2 separate regions of the Homo sapiens genome follow, and region 2 is linked to region 1. The links are contacts of gene promoters, found by promoter capture Hi-C in blood cells and fetal thymus (Javierre and others, 2016). All regions are on one chromosome and are shown on one strand. The core of a region is centred on a gene start or on the middle of the fragment in contact, and the rest is flanking DNA. Distances in the headings are between cores, read along the strand shown. Region 1 overlaps LOC124904486 (a long non-coding RNA gene). Region 2 holds the start of CYB5R1 (cytochrome b5 reductase 1).

The links. The method cuts DNA at HindIII sites, captures the fragments that hold promoters and counts their contacts. A CHiCAGO score of 5 or more calls a contact.
Region 2: the fragment with the promoter of CYB5R1 here is called in contact with a fragment that was not itself captured in region 1 in 1 of 17 cell types (fetal thymus); the score reaches 5.4 in fetal thymus.

Annotation. Positions count from the first base shown.
Region 1 is chr1:203,266,484-203,270,844 of GRCh38, reverse strand. It overlaps LOC124904486 (a long non-coding RNA gene), which reads left to right. Exons shown (of 2, transcript XR_007066798.1): 2 at 1-3,731. Among named protein-coding and RNA genes, the nearest start is that of LINC01353, 18 kb to the left of the region's middle. The HindIII fragment of the contact is 1,574 bases long and covers 1,774-3,347 here.
Region 2 is chr1:202,964,710-202,969,070 of GRCh38, reverse strand. CYB5R1 (cytochrome b5 reductase 1) reads left to right here and starts at 1,814. Exons shown (of 9, transcript NM_016243.3): 1 at 1,814-1,880; 2 at 2,173-2,322; 3 at 2,471-2,543; 4 at 3,078-3,184; 5 at 3,571-3,700. The coding sequence starts at 1,866. RefSeq lists silencers at 716-1,010, 1,627-1,786, 1,857-1,906. The HindIII fragment of the contact is 3,400 bases long and covers 841-4,240 here.

The DNA.
Region 1 (4,361 bases), core at 1,311-3,810:
GCATCCCTTAGAACTCTGATGAGGTGGCGTTGAAGGAGGGGAGCCACTCTAATGCAGCTTTTCGAACTCATCCATTCCAAAGATGGCTCAGGGCCTTTGCTAGATCCAGAGGCAGCTTGAGGGCGAAAGTCCAGGGCCCTGAGAGGGTGGAAGAGGTGACACTTCTAAGATCCAGGAAACCCCAGCCTCTGCCACAAGACTGGCTGCACAGCTACCCCTGTGGCAGGTGAAGGCAGTGCTCAGGTAGTCCTGGGACTCTTTCTAAACTTCTCTGGCCTGGCCCTCAATGTCCTCTGACAGACTCTAGCTTGCTGGGACACCTCTAAGGAAACTGCCAAGGGAACTGCAGAAGCAGGAGCAGGTGAGAAGTGCCCGGGTGTCTTCTTTCCATGGGGGAATTTGGAGAAGCATTCTGAGCCCAGCAAAGTGTCAGGCAGGCAAGGTAAGGCCTCACCTGATAGGAGGTGTATCCTCGTACCTAGTCTCAGCAAGGAAGGTTGCCAGCTTCATGGCTCTTTTGAGTTAAAAGGGCTGTAAGATCCTTGGTAAACGACCAGAGCCTGAATGTCACAGGGAAGAGGTTGGACTGGGACCCAATACAGCTGCCTATGTATCTGAGAAGACGCTATTTATAAACAGAGAAGGTATTTATTGGCTGGACAATCCTGAGGAAGTCTCCCACTTCTCACTCTCATTCATAAAGTGGGGATCATGATCACTACCTCTCAAGCTTACTGTAACATTGAATGAGGTAATGAATATGAAAACACTCAAAATCTATAAAGTATCTACAAACCTGGAAGATTATAATTCTGCATTTGTACAGTAGAAATAACAGTACCATGGTTGCTATTAGTGCCCAGCCAAATCCCCTTTACTGGTCTGGTGCAACCCTCCATCCCTGCCCACCGGCTGCTGTGAGGTTTGGCTGGTAACAGTTCACAGTTATTCCCTCTGCAGAGACTTCCCCGGGAATGGAAGCTGCCTTACTTGGGGCTTGCAGCCGATGCTTGTCTGACACAGGGGCAGGAAAGGCCAGTCCCCGACCTCAAGACAAGATGAACTCTGGTGTAGCACATGCTTCAGGGATCCCCATGAAATCAGGCCGCAGCTCAGCCACAGCTGACACCACAGCCTGGCTCCCTCCTTCCCCACCCCACTCTCCTTCCTTTTCTTTCTTCTGAGGGTTCTTCCCCAACAGAAGAAGATATGCATGAAATCTGTCCCAGGCTCTGCTTTTAAGGAATCTGGTCCACTTGTCTGCCGTACAAAGTTGCTATGAGGGTTAAATAATATAATACAGATGAAGAGATTAGCCCAGTGCCTGGCATATACAGTGCATATCCAATTAATGTTAAAGATTGCCATTATCCATGAGACTGGAGCATCAGGAACATCTTAGTGTAATAGTGAGGTGTGGAAATCTGGTGAGTGAGTCAGTGGATTGAATTTTACATGCTTAGGGACTGGGGTGGGCAGAGAGAAGGGCAGCTGGGTTTCCTTGGGTATCACTGGTTGTCTCAGCTTTGGGCAGTGAGGGTCCTTTACACAGCTAGGGAAAAGTTCCAGTCATTACATACTTCTACCAGCAGAGGACGCCACTTCCATACAAATAAGTGTTTCCTCTGCTATCTGATGCAGTTTTCATCAAAGCAGTCTAGGCTGGCAGGAAAGATCAGGTACATGACAGAGCAGAAAGTGCCTTCAGATTTGCACAGATAATAGGAGAGGGCAGAACAGGAAGAAACAGTGAGTTAAGCTGTTCAGGAAGCTTCGTGGGAGGTGAGGCCTTGAGCAGGGCACTCTAGCACCAGAAGGAGTATTGAGTGGAGATGGCATTCCCAGGGAAGCCACTACCCTAGGCAAGGTGACCAGGGCCTGAGCCAGGGCCGTGGCAGGGAGGCAGCCACGAGAGGGTATGAAGGACACCAAACACAGGGACAGGACTGATTTCAGCTGAGAGGTCTAGGAGGAGATCATGGGCCCACCAACATGGGGTAGACGTCAGGAAGGAGCACGTTTTTATAGGACAGAGCACACTTCTCCAACTGGTTTGACTGCCCTGTTACAATGTCCTCTGCAAGCCATCATTCTGTAGGATTCCTGTTTTGTGTGGATTCTAGAAACCAGTGAAATATTCAGAGGTGTTAATAGCATCAAGATTTCATTGGTTCTTTCCATTCTTTTTATTTTTATTTTTTGAGATGGGGTCTCAGTCCCTGCCCCAGGCTGGAGTGCAGTGGCACCATCACAGCTCACCACAGCCTCAACACCCCAGGGCTCAGGCGATCCTCCTGCCTCAGCCTCCTGAGTAGCTGAGACCATAGGTACGTACCACCATGCCTGGCTAATTTTACATATATACACATATATGTGTGTATATATAATTATATACGTATATATACACATATATACATATATAATTATATACATATATACATATATACACACACATATATGTGTATATATATACACACATATATATGTATATATACACATATGTATATGTGTGTGTGTGTGTGTGTATATATATATATATATATATATATATATATATTTGAAGAGACAGGGTCTCCTTACGTTGTCCAGACTGATCTTGAACTCCTGGGCTCAAGCGATCCTCCTGTCTCAGTCTCCCAAAGTGCTGGGATTACAGACGTGAGCCACCGCGCCTGGCCAGCTTTTTCCGTTTTGAGTAGAGACGGCAAGAAGCGCCCCACAGCTTGCCCTTGCTTCGGAACTCGGGGTTGTGAATCAGTCAGGATAGAAATTAATGGTGCAGTGGGAATAAAGAGGAATGTTAGATGATCTCGCAGGGGTGGGGGAGAACCCAAAAAGAAAGAACGAACGTGAAGAAGCCTAGCTCTCCGAGACTGGGGTTCAGTCCTTGCTGGAGAAAGTGCGTTGCAGCCCATTGAGGGCAGAAGAGTTCTCTGGGTTGTCCCTGGACAGAACCGGGCCACAGTCAAGAGAGCGAACATTGTGGGGAAGAGAACGGCAGGCCACGGCTCAGGGGCTGGAAGCCCCCTGCTGGGGTGCCCACAAAATTCCTCCGGAAGTTGCTGTTGGGGGATGCGCTGAACTCATGGCAAAGCCACCTAGGACTCACGCAGAACTTGCTGGGAAGCTGCCCCCGGGGAAGTGCGCATGCGGGACTTCGCAGGAAACTGGCTGGGTCAAGTCGGCTCCACCAGGAATCCACCCAAGACGGTGCGGCTGAACTCGCCACTGGGAAACTAAGTGGGACACCCACAGAACTAGCCGTGAAGATGCCTGCGGAAGTGCCCTGAAACTGAGCTGAGAACCCCGGGGGTTCAGAGTCCCGAAAGCAAGTAGGAAGGAAAGCTTAAAGAAACCGCAAGAGAAGTCTCTTCTTCTCTCTGTCCTCTAGCGCCCTCTACTGACACAGTTTAACACTGTGCCCGCTGGCAAGGGAGAAACGTTTGGAGCCAGAGAGTAATAAACTGGTAACTGGTACAGGATGTTAGCCAACTCCACTGAGGATGGGAGAGCTCTTCTATAAGCCCTTTTTGAAAAATAGTACTTGAGGACATAGTCCTGCCAGCTAAGAAACGAATCAAAATAAATAATTCAACAGAAAAAATGTAAAAGAAAAGGCAAAGAACAATCAAATCAATAAAACTAAATGAACGAAATAATTATAATTAATATAATATGAAACTAATCATTATTATTAAAATTAAATATAATAAATATTTCATGATTATAAATTGGGGTTTTTGTATCACAATTTACTTTGACAAAAACTGGGAGGTAGCAAAGAAAGAGTATACTATTAATAAAAAGTGAGAGGTGGCAAAATAGTATGCATGTATCTTATTGATCGATATGGCCTTATTCTTGATGTTAAGACATTTAGGCCGGGCGCGGTGGCTCACGCCTGTAATCCCAGCACTTTGGGAGGCCAAGGCGGGCAGATGGCCTCAGCTCACCAGTTCGAGACCAGCCTACGCCACACGGTGAAACCCCGTCTCTACTAAAATACAAAAAATTACCCGGGCCAGCCGCCCCTTCTGGGAGATGGGGGGGCGCCCCCGCCCGGCAGCCGCCCCATCTGGGAGGTGGGGGGCTCCTCTGCCCGGCCGCCCCGTCTGGGGGGTGGGGGGCCCCTCTGCCGGGCCGCCACGTCTGGGAAGTGAGGAGCCCCTCTGCTCAGCTGCCACCCCGTCTGGGAGGTGTACCCAACAGCTCATTGAGAATGGGCCATGATGACGATGGCGGTTTTGTCGAATAGAAAAGGGGGAAATGTGGGGAAAAAGAGAGATCAGATTGTTACTGTGTCTGTGTAGAAAGAAGTAGACATAGGAGACTCCATTTTGTTCTGTACTAAGAAAAATTCT
Region 2 (4,361 bases), core at 565-3,064, 300 kb after region 1:
CGGAACATAATCGCCTCATTCTCTCGGAACAGAAAAGAGGAAGGGTCCCTTCCTTCCCCTTTTCAACCCTCTCTGCATGGATTGGCATGTCACCATGATCTGGTGCACTCACTTCCCTCAAGTCAGTGTGCAGGCTGCTTAAAAAATTCAGAGGAACATGTACTGGGGTCTTAGGAACATTTTCAGCCAGTGGAGAGGAAAAGGAAAACTAAGTATCTCTTGGATCATTCACAGAGTTCACCAAATACAACTGAAAACTGGGGGCTCTAATGTCCCTGCTGCCCTGATGGTATTAGTTTAAGATGTTGACACTGACATCTGCAGAGATCTCATCCATCACGGTATATCAAAGAGCAAATGTCATTCTAGTTGAGAAACTCATGTATGAGAAAGAATGGTCATCTTGGGAAATCTGTAGCTCCAGCGGCTCCTGATGTTTTTTCCTGCCTCCTCCTGTCCCATGCTTGTGCCCCAGGCAGAGCTCATTCCTAAAACCATAGCTGACCCTCTGTGCTGTCTTTTAAGTTATAATAGTAGCTGCCAACTGTTGAATATTTTGCTTTATGACAGGCACTACACTAAGCACGTTAACATATCTCACTGAAGCCTCACACCAAAGCTATGAACTAGATACAATCTATCTGTAGATAATAATATATATCCATCTGTAGATATCCATCTTATATCCATCTGTAGATGAAGAAACTCAGGTTGAGTAAGCTATCTAAGGTCACAGAGCCAATAAGTGCTAGAGGCAAGATTCTTATTCTGTACACTCTGCCTCCAAAGCCCACTTCTTTGACCCTAAGGGCACAAGAACCCAAATCAGGATGTGAAGCTTGGTCTTTGAAACCAAAGGAAGCTCCTGAATCATCCTGATAGGCTGACGGCTTGGCGCTGTAAACAAAATCAGTCTTTTGTCAAAAGGAAATGAAGTTGCCATGCCACTGTTCACTCCTGTAAGAGACTCCTCTGGGCTGTTCCATTCTCTTGCTGCAATTCAGCCGGTTGAAAAACTAAGGTGACTGCACAATGATTAACTTCAGGCCCTTCTGCTCTACTTTGAGCCTGTCTCTGGTTCATCGTTACACTCTCCGCTCAGCACCCGCAGACTCAAGAGATTTCCAATCCCCCAATTTAGCGTGGTTCTACCTTAGGCAGAACTCCCATCCAGTTCGGATATAAGCGGGTCGAAGTGGCAGGGACCACCTCGCTGGGAGGAGAGGCTGGAGCTGCGGTCTTAAAAGATCTTGGGGCCGGGCGCGATGGCTCACGCCTGTAATCCCAACACGTTGGGAGGCCGAAGCGGGTAGATTATTTGAGCCCTGGAGCTCGAGACCACCCTGACCAACACGGTGAAACCCAGTCTGTACTAAAAATACAAAAAAAAAATTAGCCGGGCGTGGTGGCGCACGCCAGTAGTCCCAGATACTCGGGAGGCGGAGCCAGGAGAACCACTTGAAACTGGGAGGCGGAGGTTGCAGTAACCGAGATCGCGCCACTGCACTCCAGCCTGGGCGACAGAGCGAGGCTCCGACTCAAAAAAAAAAAAAAAAGTATTGAATAAGCACCGGAGACCCTGAGCCACCGAGTAGCGGAGGGAAAGGGTGGCGCGCAGAGGGGCCCAGCCCCGCCTCTGCCGGACCCCGCCCCCAAAAGGCCCCGCCGCCGCCACCTCCTGCTAGGCCCCGCCCCCGACAGACACCCCCCCCCCCCCCCGCCAGGCCCCGCCTCCTGCCCCCCCAGCCGCGAGGTCCTGCCTCCTGCCCGGCCCCGCCCCCGGCCTGCCCCGCCCTCCGACCCGCCCCGCGGCGCATTGTGGGATCTGTCGGCTTGTCAGGTGGTGGAGGAAAAGGCGCTCCGTCATGGGGATCCAGACGGTAAGACCCTCATTCAGTATCCTCCACTGGGGGACCCCTCCCCATCTGGTTCTGGCCACTCAGCTCCGGACCAGGGGCTGTCGCTGCCGACCCCGCCCCGCAGGGCTCTGGGCCCACCGTGGATGCTGGGGTCCCGATCCCGCACATCCGGGCTCGGGACTCCGCCAGGTTACCCCTCTGCCCTTGGCATGCCTCCGCGCTGGAGCTCGGGATCGCCACCCCTGGGACGGTCACCACCCAAGCCCCGGGCTCTTACCCAGCCTGGCGGTCACGCTGCCTCCTCTACCCACAGAGCCCCGTCCTGCTGGCCTCCCTGGGGGTGGGGCTGGTCACTCTGCTCGGCCTGGCTGTGGGCTCCTACTTGGTTCGGAGGTCCCGCCGGCCTCAGGTCACTCTCCTGGACCCCAATGAAAAGTACCTGCTACGACTGCTAGACAAGACGGTAAGTTGGGGAAGAAAGGGCCAGGGTGAAGGAGGGGACCAGAGTGCTCCTGGCATGGAGGGTACAGCACCCACGGTGGTTGGGATGTCCAAGGGACGTGGCAGCGCCAGGCGCGCTTGGTGAAACACTTGTGTCCTCCACCCTCCAGACTGTGAGCCACAACACCAAGAGGTTCCGCTTTGCCCTGCCCACCGCCCACCACACTCTGGGGCTGCCTGTGGGTAAGGAAAGTGTGGAATGGGCTCCTTTCCCTGGTATCCTCAGAAGGTGACTCCCCTCCTGGGATCTCATGAAACACGCTGCTTCAACCGGTTTGCTCCACACACCATTCCCCTTCCCCCACTTGGCTCTGCATCCTCCAAGCTGTGAGGTGCCACTGGGCCCCTCTAGAGTGTGGCTTCCATGACCCCCATCCAGCTTTAACACTCAACAGTCTTGCCTCTTCCCTGCAGGATTTGCTAATTACTCCCTCTGAGCAAGCACTACTAACTTTTTCCCATTGCCCAGACCCTTTTGGCTCATCTGTCAAGGTCCTGGCAGTAACTGGCAGGAAACGCTGGAAATAAGTGTTTCCTCAACTGGGCGCTTATAAGAGATCCAACTGAGGGCTCAATGGGGCAAATCTTCCCTGCCTTGTAGCTCCTTGGGACCACAGCAGGAAGCAAGACATCTTGTTCTCTCAAATCTCTTTGAGTATTTTGAGGGATGCAGCACATCACAGACAACCCTTATGTAGCTCTCTGCACGGTCCCCAGGCAAACATATCTACCTCTCCACCCGAATTGATGGCAGCCTGGTCATCAGGCCATACACTCCTGTCACCAGTGATGAGGATCAAGGCTATGTGGATCTTGTCATCAAGGTAAGGGGCTAGGAAGGGACCCAGGGGCTGCTTACCCATTCTTTCTGGGATTTGTAGAAATTTCTAAGATTTGCCTGACAGCAGGAAATGGTATGTACTCTGTGGATGTGAAGAAAGTATGAGCTACTCAGGAGACTGAGGCAGGAGACTCACTTGAACCCAGGAGGCGGAGGTTGCAGTGAGCCAAGATTGCGCCACTGCACTCAAGCCTGGGCAGCAAGAGCAAAACTCTGACTCAAAAAAAAAAAAGAAAGAAAGAAAGTATGTAGACGGGGAAAAGATAGCACATATCTGATCCCTGCCCCAGCCTCAGGGAGGTTTAGTCAACATGGGGCTCAGAAACCAGTGACATTCCAAATAAGGTATTTTTCTCTCTGTCTTGTAAGGTCTACCTGAAGGGTGTGCACCCCAAATTTCCTGAGGGAGGGAAGATGTCTCAGTACCTGGATAGCCTGAAGGTTGGGGATGTGGTGGAGTTTCGGGGGCCAAGCGGGTTGCTCACTTACACTGGAAAAGGTAATGACCTGTCTTCTCCTTGAGCCTGTCTCCCACTTTATCAGTTCCCATAGTCCTCTTGGCACAGTATGGCTGTGTGTACACATGTGTATGCACGTAAGGGCCAGGGCCGCCCTTCCTTCTAAACATAGCGCTGATACAATAGAAAGGCATGTTTCTCAGCCCCATTTGCCACAGGAAGCAGTTCCTCCTCCACTTGAATTCCCTAGCCATGGCAGCTGTGGAGATTACTAAAGCAAACATGTGCCCCTCTTCCCCACCTTCAAAAATTTGCCCCCCTGGGTGAGCTGTGGAGTGAGCCAGAGATAGCTTTCAGCCCTTCCCATGGGAACAGCTGGGTGCATTAGCAAGTCCCTGGAGCTGCTGTGTGCCACTTGGGAAAATAGATTCACACCTGGCTCTGTGCCTGTCTCCTTCACCAGGGAGTGACACTTTGCCAGAAGCAGCTGATACATTGTGTGGCGCTGAACTGACTCACAGATAGCCCTGGCCCCATTGTCCCTCAACTATATTATTGTCAGGGCTGGCTCAACTCAAGCTTCCACCCAAGCTCCAGGATCAGATGTCATAGCAGCTGCTCAACTGGCCTCAGGCATATTTTCAACTCTGCATTTGTTTTCTAAGTTCGCTGTATTGACTTTATTCTTCCACTGCTCTCTTC